Linked DNA regions of Homo sapiens: region 2 is linked to region 1. The links are contacts of gene promoters, found by promoter capture Hi-C in human tissues and cell types (Jung and others, 2019). All regions are on one chromosome and are shown on one strand. The core of a region is centred on a gene start or on the middle of the fragment in contact, and the rest is flanking DNA. Distances in the headings are between cores, read along the strand shown. Region 1 holds the start of HPN (hepsin). Region 2 holds the start of HSPB6 (heat shock protein family B (small) member 6).

Region 1 (6,072 bases), core at 3,573-6,072:
CTGGGCATGGTGGCTCATGCCTGTAATCCCGGTCCTTTGGGAGGCTGAGGCAGGTGGATCACTTGAGGTCAGGAGCTCAAGACCAGCCTGGCCAACATGGTGAAACCCCGCCTCTACTAAAAATACAAAAATTAGCTGGGTGTGGTGGCGGGCGCCTATAGTCCCAGCTACTCGGGAAGCTGAGGCAGGAGAATCGCTTGAACCCGGGAGGTGGAGGTTGCAGTGAATCAAGATTGCGCCACTGTACTCTAGCCTGGGCAACAGAGCGAGACTCTGTATTAAAAAAAAAAAAAAATTGAAAGCTCAGTGGCTCCCATCAAGGCATGAGGAAACACTCTCTTCCCCAAAAGAGGCCCCAGTGGGCCAGACCAGCCCAACTACTGCCGGCTGACCCCTGCCTGTCCTGCGAGGGGTTCTCAGGCCTGCCCCCCAACTCTGCCCAGGACCACTCTCCAGGTTCCAGCAGGAGGTCTTGGCTCCCGACAGCCACTGGGCTGGTCTTGCTTGCTTTGTTTTCAGCTGTGCCTGCCAGGGCTCTAGGCCATGCAGAATGCAGCCTAGAGGCCTTGGCACATCTGGTGGGACAGGAAGCAATGCCACTATGTATGTGTCTCCTAGGGTGAGAGGAAGAACCTCCTTCCATGCTGTGTGGTTCAGAGGACTTCAGCGCCTCCAGTGGGACAGGAAGCATCTGCATCCTGGGGTTCCCCCAGTATGAGAGGCATCCTCCCTGCATGTCTCTACTGGGACAGGCAGCATCCTCATCTGGCCCACGGTGTGGGACGCATCCTCATCCTCCCTGCGTGTCTCTACTGGGACAGGCAGCATCCTCATCTGGCCCAGGGTGTGGGACGCATCCTCATCCTCCCTGCGTGTCTCTACTGGGACAGGCGGCACGTCAACATCAATTCTTTGATCCCAGCAGCAGGGCTATTTCCCTTGGTAAGCCAGACCTCCCCCACCCCTACATCTCCCTGAGACTCTCTGCCCCTGCTTCTCCAGGCCCCTCTGGATGCCTTGGGTCTTCTCATAGGTCAGTTCTTCCGCCTCCACCATTTGGCTGCAAAGACCCCCACGCGTAACACCTTTGGCTCTCTGGCTCTGAAAATCCACTCAACTGGTGGCTCCGTGTCTCGGGCCTCATCTTACATGACTGCAGCTTCCTGTATAAATGCTCTCCTCTTTGGACTTCTGGGACACCAGGCGCACCTGATTTTCCTTCCCGCCTCTGAGGCTGCTGTCTTCACCCACCCTCTACCTACTCCGTAAAATCCAGAGTTTGTAGGGCTGGCCGCAGCCTCCCCCTGCTCCTCCTTGCCCCTAAGTCTGTCTCACCCACCTCTGTGGACTCAGTTTCCCCTCTGTCCCCAGCCCTAGACCCTCTTCCAGGTCCCAGGTCAGGGCTCCTGCAGTCCTTTAAATACCTTTTAAATACCTTTCCCTGGGACCTCCTAGTCCCTTTGCCCCTACCAGGTCCCAGAATGTCTCCCCAATGTCTCCCCAAGTATATTCTTCCTCCCGGTCCTGTCTCAGAGGCCCTCACTCCTAGGACCATCCCCATCTGCATAACATTCCCCTCCCCCGACAGCCTGCCAATCCTCCTGAGTGACTCTCCTTCCCCCGTTTCCTTCTTTCTCTCCATCTGCACCTTGCTCCGGCCCCATCCAACCGCTGGGCTCAGTCTCCCTTCTAGCGCACCCTCCACACGGAGGCTTGGGGAACCTACTGAGACACCAAATCCAACCTGTCCCCTCTTTACCTATAGAACCCTCTGTGACTCCCTAGTACCCCCCAGACAGCTTAAGTCCCTCAGCCTGGCATTTCCAGCCCCACTAGGGTATAAGCATGGCTTTCAGAGATTTGGGAGTATGTTTCCCCCAATTCTCAGACAACCATGTGGGTCACTATCAGGTACCAGAGAGAGCTTCCAAAAAGCAACCCAAACAGTAGAACTTGTAAAATACAAGTTAGACAAGAGAAGCAGGGACTAACCACTGGCGCCACCTTGTGGAGAGACCTGGTACTGCAAGGAATTGGCCAGCTCTTCCCCAAAACAGTCCCACCCCTGCCTGGTCCAGCTTGCACACCTCTTCTCCCACCCAGCTCAACTTCCAGCTTCACCTCCAGAAATACCACAATTGGCTACGTGCACACCAGTGCTGTGTCACCTCCCAGCTTCCCAGAGAAGAGCAAGAGCCTTGCTCTTCCCTCTGCCTGGCATCCTTGGAATTGCAACTCCAGTATCACCTCCTCCAATTCCAAGTTTCCAGGCAGCACCAAGAAGCCAGCAGCAATAACAGTGACACCAACAACAGCAGCCGCTGCAGCCACAACGGCTCTCTGAATCACACACGGACGCACCGCCCTACCCTAACCCCGTCCAGTCCTGCACAGCATCCTTACTTAAATCCTTGCAGCTGTTCACGAGGAAGGCGCCATTGCCATCACCCCCAGTTTACAGATGAGAAAAGGAGGCCCAAAGTCCGGCAGCCACCAAACCCGGGTCACCCGGCAAGTAAGTGCAGAATCGGAACCCTTCAGCATCTGTGTCCAGGTTCGACCTCCACACCCCTAGCCCTGACAGCAGGACTCCCCTCCAAGACCAGCCCGGAGCTGCCAGGGAGGCACCAGAGCCCACTTTGTGTCTGTTTCTCTTTGTACCCAGGCCATCTCTGTCCATTCGGGCATTTTCTGCTTTTCTTCCCTGGCTCATTCACCCATGGGCCCAAGCCCTGGGGCTGTCCTTCCGGCAGCTCCAGGAAAGAGATTGTCCCCAAGGAGCTGGATTCTGTCATCCACCTGCTCGGCTAGGGTGCAATGCCTTCTCCTGAGTAACTGGGAGCCTGGGTTCCCTCTGGACTGCAGCTGATTGGTTTGGGGTCTGAATTGCCAGCTGTGCCGAGACCCGAGGAGGCCAGAGATCTGAACTAATCATTTCAGCCAACACGCTCAGTGCTTCCTGCCCATCCTGGCATTTCAGGCCTCGCCCCACGCTGTTGGACATGCACTGTCACCCTCTCCATTTCACAGATGAGAGAATGGAGGCCCAGGGAGAACACGCCGTCTGCCCAGGGCCACACAGCTAGAAAGTGCTACTGCCCAGGACTGAGCCCGGCTATCCTGGTTGCGGAAGAAGAGAGGGAGTCAGCCCCAGCTAGGGGAAGGCAGAAAGAACAGGACGCCCCTCCATGCGCCCCTCCAGCTGGGTCCCATGTGTGAGAGGTAGAAAGGAAGCCAGGCTAGCTGGGGGCTGCCCAGAGACTCCCAAGGGCCAGCAACTCCATGACGCAGTCTCTCTCTCTCATCCTTATGGTGGTTTCTCTGCCGTCTCTCCCCTCTCCATCCATCCAGGCCCAGTCCAAAGTCCTCCCTCTGCTCTTTTGCCCACAGAGCCAGGAGGTGGAGGAATGTCTGGGATCGGTGGGGGTCCTGGGTCTCTGGGACTCCGAGTTTGCCAACCTCTGTCATGACAGCTCTGCTTGATGGCATGCGTCTTATATGCAGAGCCCCAGACCAGTGCCTGGTGTGTGTCATGCACTCAGCAACCTCACAGAGGGAGGACTGGTATCCATGCTTGACCCAGAGGGAGACCAAAGCCCTAAGAATAATGTCACTTGCACCAGATCACACAGCAAAAAAGATGGCAAGAGCAAATTCAAATGCAAGCCTGTGTGTTTCACTCCAAATCTGTGTCCTTAACCATGACAGCTACAGCTTCCCCGCCTCAGCCCCAGCAGAGGACAAGTCCAGAGTTAGCTGAGAAATCACTGGGGGATGAGGGGAAACTGAGGCAGCACGCCAGGAAGGTCACATAGGGTAGAAGGGAGGCTGGTGGTGGCACAGCTGCACAGAAAATGTGGTTAATAGTTAATCAGGTGGAGGAGGACTAACAGGGGTGGGGATGCATCTGGGAGGGGTGCCCAGAGAGAGGGGGCTCCGAAGAGTAGAGGGTAGAGAAAAGAGCACAGAGGGCGGGGCGCCAGGCAGAGCCAAAGCTGGGGCTCAGGGAAGGGGACTCACCCTCCTTCTGCGCCATGTCACTGCCTCTTGTTAATGATTCCCTGGCTGACCTCCTGGGCCAGGGTGGGACCTGTGAGGAGATGGACGGGGAGGCAGGGCCTGGGGGAGCCCAGCCCAGCCCAGTCCTGGCGCCCCCAGTCCCAGGCGTCCATCCAGGCAGGCTGTAGGGACTGGGCCTTGGCCAGAGCACGCCGTGATCACGGACGCAGATTGGGCTGGGTTCAAGGATGGGGTCAGTGTCTGACCAGCAGCGGGGGGACGCCTGGATTTGCAGGGATGGGGACCCCCATGCCTGAGCCTGGTGGAGCAGGGGACTGAGGATCCCGGTTTGAGGGAGGAGACAGCTGAGGACCTGAAATCATAAGTCTTGGGAAAGGAGGAATTTGGGGGCCAGGACTCCCTAGTATGAGGGAGGAGGGGCCTGAGGGCTGGAACTCCTGGGTCTGGGGAGGAAAGGACTGGGGTCCAACGGCTGAGTCTGAAGGAAGAGCAGGACAGAACACCTAGGTGCTTGGGGGGACGTCATAGTGCCCCCTCTTCAGGTCCCCAGGAACCCCTCTATTAGGAGGTGGGCATTAGGCTGGGTGGGGGGATGAGGGAACCCCTGTCCTCAGGGCTGGAACTGTGAGTCTGGGGGCCCTTGTCCTTACCCTGGGGTCCAGCAGGTGGGGGCGGAGCCTCGAGGTAGTGCCGGGGTCGGGTCAGTCTCCAGGCCTGGGCAGGAGCATGGTGGCCCCGCAGCAGCGGGCGGCCTGGAGGCAGAGGCGGTGGCGTGGGGCCTGCTAGGCCAGGCTGCCTCACCTGAGGAGGAGGGGGCTGGGCGAGGGGCGGGTGAAGGGGCGGGGAGGGGCCGGACCATTCGATTGGCAGCACTGGAGGCCACCTGGCTGATGGGGCCGGGCTTGTGGGGGCTGGACCAGGCGGGCCCAGCTACGGGGCTTGCCTTGGACCTCCAGGGGGACCCAGGTGTGCCTGTCTGCGGGGATGTGGGAACAGGGACAGGCCTGGCCGGAGGCTGGGGGTTTAGGGAGAAAGTGCAGGCTGAAGGGTGGGGGTCTGACCAGAAGAGATCAGATGGAGGGCCCCAGCTGCCCTAAGCCCACTCCACCCTCACCCAGCGAACCCTTCCCCCCGCCCTTTCTGCGTCCTCCAGCCCCAGGTCCTGGCTGTGCCCGCCACTTGCTGCACCTCTGCCTAATTCCCTGCCCAATTCCTGGGCCCCAACCCCAGCCCCAGCCTCTCCCGCCTGCCCTGCTCATCCTGCCCCGGCCCCTCCCCCGCTGGCTTCCTACAAGTCACGGGGCTGGTTTGCTTTGGCAGCCTCCGCCCGGCCGCGGTGACCTCTGGAGCCAGAAAGTCCTAGCACTAGATAGGGGGGATGGGGGGCTTGGCCGGGAAAACACAGCGCTAAGGGCAGAGGCCCAGGCCAAGTGGCCGGAAGCGTCCGCAGGCAGATAACACACTGTCCCGCCAGCAGCCAGGCGCGGCCCACGTCAGACCCAGGGCCAGGTAAACACCAGACGTGCAGGGTCACCGCCAGACACCTGCCCGTGCTCAACCACACGCCGGACACAGTCGGCCTCGGCTGCTTGCCCCAGATAGGCCACCCGCACAACCGGCCCCACCCGCTTACCCACACGTGCCCGCTGTGCCCAGCCAAACCCACCTCCACCGCACCCATTTCCTCCACTCAGCCCAGGGCCCCTCATTGGGACACGCTGGTTTAGCCTGGCTTCCTCTGCCTTTCCATCCATACCCGTCTCTCCTTCCCTCTCCTTCTCCCCAGCGCCCACCTCTCCAGAGACTCACACTGCTGGGCACACCACACACCCCATGCCACCCCTGCACCCCAGCATCAGCCTCGATTCTCTTCCCTCCACGGCACCCCCTCCCTTCCTGGCTCCGTTCCACTCTCCCTCACCCCTGAGCCCATGGCTCCCCCAACCCCGACACAGATCAGGCACTAAGTGGCTTCACCTGTGGGCCCTCAGGTAGGGTCCCTGGAAAGCGGGCTCGAAGATTCGGGGACGGGAATGGGGGGAAGGTGACGGG
Region 2 (5,594 bases), core at 807-3,306, 720 kb before region 1:
TCCCATTCCAGACCAACAGAATCAGAATATCTATTAGTGGGGCTGGGCCTCCGTGTCTTTTCCGCAGCGTCCCAGGTGATTGCGAAGTGGAGTTCAGGTTAAGAATCGCGGCTCGCCGGGCGTGGTGGCTCACGCCTGTAATCCCAGCACTTTGGGATTACACCGAGGCGGGTGGATCACTTGAGGTCAGGTGTTCGAGACCAGCCTTACTAACATGGCGAAACCCCGTCTCTACTAAAAATATAAAAAATTAGCCAGGCGCGGTGGCAGGTGCCTGTAGTCCCAGCTACCTGGGAGGCTGAGGCATGAGAATTGCTTTAACCCGGGGGCAGAGGTTGCAGTAGCCAAGATTGTGCCACTGCACTCCAGTCTGGGCCAACAGAGCGAGAGACTCTGTCTTAAAAAAAAAGAAAGAAAGAAAGAACCGCGGCTGGATTATATCACCGAGCATTTCCCATACATTCCTGGGGGACACGAAGGCAAAGGGTAGATGGACTACAAGCCCCAGGATCCACTGGGCTCCGCCTCCGCGAGAAAGTTCAAAGACAACGCCCAGGCGTGTCTGGGGGCCATTTCAAAATGAAGAAATTCAGATCTCAAGCCTTTCTTGGACACCTTTAGAGGCAATAATTCCTTGGGGCCCACTCAGAGAGGAACATAAGACTCTTAGGGGACCCCCGGGATGCTAACGGCTACGGCTGGAGAGGCCAACGGCTGTGGAGCATGTTGGGAATTGTAGTTCCAGTGCGGTGGAGCCCTAGCGACTCCAGACCGTATCCAGCCCGTCCTAGGCTGTGCTGCTCTCGCCGTTGGTCCTCCCCAGCCTCCTGTAGTCCCTGGAAGAGCGATCGGCCTCACCTGCGGTCCATCCCGCGGCTCCCTCCGCGCTTCCGGCCGCTCTGCTCCTTCACCCAACAGGCCCCGCGCGCATCTCCGTCGCTTAGCAACGCCCTATCAGCCCCGCCCCTCTCTGTGCCCGCGCCGGAGGCGAGCGGCCTCCAAGGCGACCAATGAAAGAGAGGAAACAGAAGTACCCGGAGGGAGGTGTTTCAGGATTGGCTGGGACGACTGCCTGCCCGACAGGGCGTGTTTGATTGGAGAACCTGCCGAGTGTAGCAGTAATTGGCAAGACCGTGCACCAATGGGAAGGATCTGAGGCTGGGCTTGCGGTTAGGAGGTGATCTAAAGTACCCTCGCTTAAAAGTCCCGCTTTTTAAGCGCCTTCTTGCTGCAGAAGTCCTGTCCCGACCCCGGTCTAACTACCATTCTTTCTGTTGCAGGGGCAGTGGGGCGGGTTGGGGGGGGGGCGCGCTCTGCCCTCTCTCTAACCGCTATTCCTCCATCAGTTGGGCCAATCAGTCCGTCCCAACGGTCATCTAACTTCTTTCTTGCTGCAGGAGCAGCTGGTTGCATCAGTTGCCAGGTCTGGGCTCCTGGCCGAGGTAGCGGGATCAAAATGAGCTATTTCCAGCCCCAGCGCGCGGCCCCCGGGGGGCCAGCCTGAACTGTTCATGCTCGCGCCCCCTGGCCTCTGCGCACCAGAGGCTGAGTCAGAGGCACAGAATTAGGCCCGGCCTGCCGGGGGACTGGGCCCAAGGTCTGGCTGAGGATAAGGGTAGGGAGGGCCTGTTCTATGTCCTCCTGACATCCTGGCGGGGCTACCGCATTCTCCAGGAATCTGCTCCTAAAGACCTCCATCTGCGTCATCCTCAGAGCTGCCAGGGGGGAGGCAGTGGATTAAAGGGACTGGAAACTCTTCCGTGGGCCTCTTGGGTCCTGGGCCCCAATCACCACGCTGTGCTCCCCACACCCGCAAGGCTCCCCCTCCTCAGCCTTAGTTTCCTCTTCTGGAAATTGGGGAATCTTCATGTCACCTTCTTGACAGCATTTGCCAGGCATCCAGCAGGCGCTTAATAAATGGCCAAGTCATTGTTTGGGTTTCTAAATAAGGCTCTCCTAATGGCCGGGTCTGGCCACGGTCCCAGTGTCCCTGGGCAGCCCTCCGAGGGGCCGGCACAGGGCGCACTATAAATGAGCGGCTGCGCACGCAGGGGCACTGCAACGCGGAGGAGCAGGATGGAGATCCCTGTGCCTGTGCAGCCGTCTTGGCTGCGCCGCGCCTCGGCCCCGTTGCCCGGACTTTCGGCGCCCGGACGCCTCTTTGACCAGCGCTTCGGCGAGGGGCTGCTGGAGGCCGAGCTGGCTGCGCTCTGCCCCACCACGCTCGCCCCCTACTACCTGCGCGCACCCAGCGTGGCGCTGCCCGTCGCCCAGGTGCCAGGCCTGGGGAGGGGTGAACTCGACCACTTCCATTGCCAGGGGTCTGGGGCAGCCTGGGGTGGGAACATGTGAGAGAATGTTCGTTGGCCTTGGGCGGGGTGGAGAGTCCGCAGCTCCGAAGGGCTTCCGGAGTCAATGGGAATCTGAGGCCCGCACACTGCAGCGGGTGGGAGGTCCCCGTCGCTCTTAGGTGGGGGGCGGGGTGGGGGGCTCTCAGCTCTCCAGAGAATGGAAGGCCTGGGTCACTCTAAGGGGAGTCTTGCTTACTCTGAAGGAGGCTGGTGATCCGGGAAATCTGGGGAAAAGGAGGCGGGCAGTGACTCCTGAGGGGAAGGAATGTTCTTAGTCTCGGGGAAGAGTTGAGAGACTGTGTGCGGTGGCCCGATATCTCCAGAAGAGGAGGGGAGAGGGCCCTGCGACTTGAGGAAGGGTTCCCGGCCACTCTGAAGTGGGGGAAGGCTACCAGTAGCTGCCGAGGTCCCGTGACTCGAGTGGGAGAGTAGGCAGAGGACCCTGGAGACGGGGAAAGGGGCATCTTGGCGAGTTTGGCGGGGCTGGCGGAGAAGGGACCCGGGGCTCTGAGGAGGGAGCTGGGGAATCAGTGCCCTGGGGGGCACGATGACTTCGGATTCGCTGACACCGGGGGAGGGCAGAGGTTCCTGACCTTGCAGGGGAAGGGAGCCTCATCACTGCGGGGGAGAGGGCAATCCCAGATATTACAGGGGGAGGGCGTATCCCTGTTGTTCAGGGTGAAGAGGTCCTGGGTGACTCCCAGTAGGAGAGCTGACTGCTCAACTCCGGAGGCCAGAGTGAGCCGCGGCACGGAACCGACGGGGGTGGGGTCTCCCTGGGTGGGTCCTGGAGCCTGGCCCAGCCCAATGACAGTCCCGCCCGCGCCCGCTGCGCTCAGGTGCCGACGGACCCCGGCCACTTTTCGGTGCTGCTAGACGTGAAGCACTTCTCGCCGGAGGAAATTGCTGTCAAGGTGGTGGGCGAACACGTGGAGGTGCACGCGCGCCACGAGGAGCGCCCGGTGAGCCGCGGCGTGGGGCGGGGCTGGAGCGGGTACGCTCGCCGCCGGGCCGGAGGGGCGGGGCCGCTCAAGCCTCCCTCCCCTCCAGGATGAGCACGGATTCGTCGCGCGCGAGTTCCACCGTCGCTACCGCCTGCCGCCTGGCGTGGATCCGGCTGCCGTGACGTCCGCGCTGTCCCCCGAGGGCGTCCTGTCCATCCAGGCCGCACCAGCGTCGGCCCAGGCCCCACCGCCAGCCGCAGCCAAGTAGGAGGGGGCTGGGCCGCGCCCGCACCCCGGGAGCCTCCTCAGGCTCCCTCTATTAAAGCCGATCTGACTCCGCCCAGCCAGATGTCCCGAGTGCGCCAAGGACTGTCCTCTCACCCACTCCTGGATTCTGCCCTGACCTCCATCCTGGACACTGCCTTGATAACATAGACCCTTCCACTGACACCCTCGCTCTCACACCCCCTCCAGCTTTCCGACCCCACACCGACAACTCCCCGGCTTCCAGACCCTACCAGCACTACCCTAACCCTCAGCCGACAGTCTCAGCCCCACCGACCCACTTTCTTGGCATATAGCCCCACTTAAGACCCCTCCTCTACTTCCTTCTGAGTCCTCTACAAAGACATCCGGGTACTACATTTCCATCCCTTCCCTATTTTGACACCAAATTATGGTGTAGACAGCCCTCCCCCAACCCCAGGCCAGTCAGGCACAATCCCCCCACCCCCCAAACGTCCTGGACTGCACAGACCTCCCACTCCAGACCATCCAGGCCTGGTTCCCAAGACCCGATCCTTCCCCTGCAACCAGACAGTCTACAACTGCCCCCTCCAGCCCATTTTCTGCCGTGAAACCCCAGCCAGCCACACCAGACTCTGGAACCCTTTTTCGACTGCCCCAACTCTTGGACACCAGGCCAACTAGAACACCCAACACCAAACTGTACAGACTCTCCCACCCCAACCTCCCCAGACTCTGCACGGATGTCCTAGGCCCCCTCCCCAACTCTAACCAGACCCCATCCCCCTAAGTCCCTTTGTCTTGACCCCCAAGTCTTCAACCAGATATCCTCGGCAACCCACCTCCCACCCTCCTCCTCTTCTCCTTCAAGACCCAACTGAGCACCCGCTCTGATTCCCCACAGCCTTTCTCCCTGCCACCACTCCCTTAGTCTTTCCCAGGCTTACTCTCCCAATAAATGTGCTAGAGCTCTGCCAACTGCTTTGTGCCTGGGCCAGGAAGGAGGGACCGGAGCAGACACCAGTGTGGAGCTGGGGGATGTTTACTGGTGTGGGGGGACCTGGGAACATCACTGTCGTTCGTACATCTCTCGTAGGATCTTCATGCTTTCTGAGTAACGAAGCTGGTTCCGATGAGAGGCCTCCTTCCACCTGGGGAGGCAGAGGGGAGACTCAGCAGTTGCAAAGGGCCCTACGAGGGGCAAGCAGGCTGGGGGACGCTCACCTCTGGCGGATGCGTTTCCAGCGCTGCATGTTGCGATAGATGAGTGTGGAGGGTGAGGGCTCGGGCTCAGAGGGCTGCATGGACAGACAGGCCAGGTTGAGTGGCCATTCCTGAGCCCTACCGCATGTGCCCCATAACCCTGGGCCAGCCTGGCATACTCACCTCATCGTCAGGGGTGCCCTGCATCTCAGGCTGCAGTGGAGATGGGATGCGGGATCTGCAGGCATCTCCGGGTGGCCCCGGGGGTGTGGGTGGCGGCAGCTTGTACACATCACGACTCTTGCTGTTGGTTACCTCTGAGCCCTGGGGACACAAGGGCCCCATGCCAGGCCCAAGAGAGTCAAAGCAGAGGGGCTGGGAATCCACATTCATCCCTCCTGCCTTTCCCAGCAACAAATGGCATGAGGGGCTCGCTAAGGGACTCAGACAGGAGGCATGTATGAAGGGCAGACACCTCAACCAGCCAGCGGGTCAAGTGTGCCTGCCCCAGGGACCCCTGTCTTCTCCTATCCAGCCCAGAGACTCCATCTACACCTGTCAGCCCAGGGAGTCGCGTCTGCCTGCCTCAGGGAATCCTGTCTAGGGGGTCACGTCTGTGCCACCTAGGAAGCTCTGTCCATTTCTGACAGTCCTATATGTCTGAAGGGTCCTATATGTCTGTCCTGGGGACCCTTGTCTACCCCGCTGGGTCAGATGGCTTATAGACTCCCATCCATTCCTGCCCAGCCCCTGCTCCTCAAGGCCTGGTGGCCACTTCTGTCTGTACTAAGGACCCTTGTCTAGCCCCTCGGCTCTTGGGAACCCCTGATCTTGGAGGTCCACATCTAAC

The links. Contacts are between HindIII fragments. The study calls those that stand out against the background at their distance.
Region 2: the fragment with the promoter of HSPB6 here is called in contact with the fragment with the promoter of HPN in region 1 in 1 of the 25 tissues and cell types used here (spleen).

What each region holds. Positions count from the first base shown.
Region 1 is chr19:35,040,471-35,046,542 of GRCh38, reverse strand. HPN (hepsin) reads right to left here and starts at 4,822. Exons shown (of 13, transcript NM_001384133.1): 1 at 4,671-4,822; 2 at 4,021-4,090. The coding sequence starts at 4,036. RefSeq lists an enhancer at 5,351-6,072. The HindIII fragment of the contact is 10,578 bases long and covers 1-6,072 here.
Region 2 is chr19:35,753,491-35,759,084 of GRCh38, reverse strand. It overlaps HSPB6 (heat shock protein family B (small) member 6), which reads left to right and starts at 2,056. Exons shown (of 3, transcript NM_144617.3): 1 at 2,056-2,274; 2 at 3,191-3,313; 3 at 3,402-4,519. The coding sequence starts at 2,077. The coding sequence ends at 3,563. PROSER3 (proline and serine rich 3) reads right to left here and starts at 909. Exons shown (of 11, transcript NM_001367856.1): 1 at 859-909. The coding sequence starts at 869. It overlaps LIN37 (lin-37 DREAM MuvB core complex component), which reads right to left. Exons shown (of 9, transcript NM_019104.3): 7 at 4,928-5,068; 8 at 4,766-4,839; 9 at 4,566-4,692. The coding sequence ends at 4,611. RefSeq lists enhancers at 565-624, 665-904, 1,233-1,804. The HindIII fragment of the contact is 17,144 bases long and covers 1-5,594 here.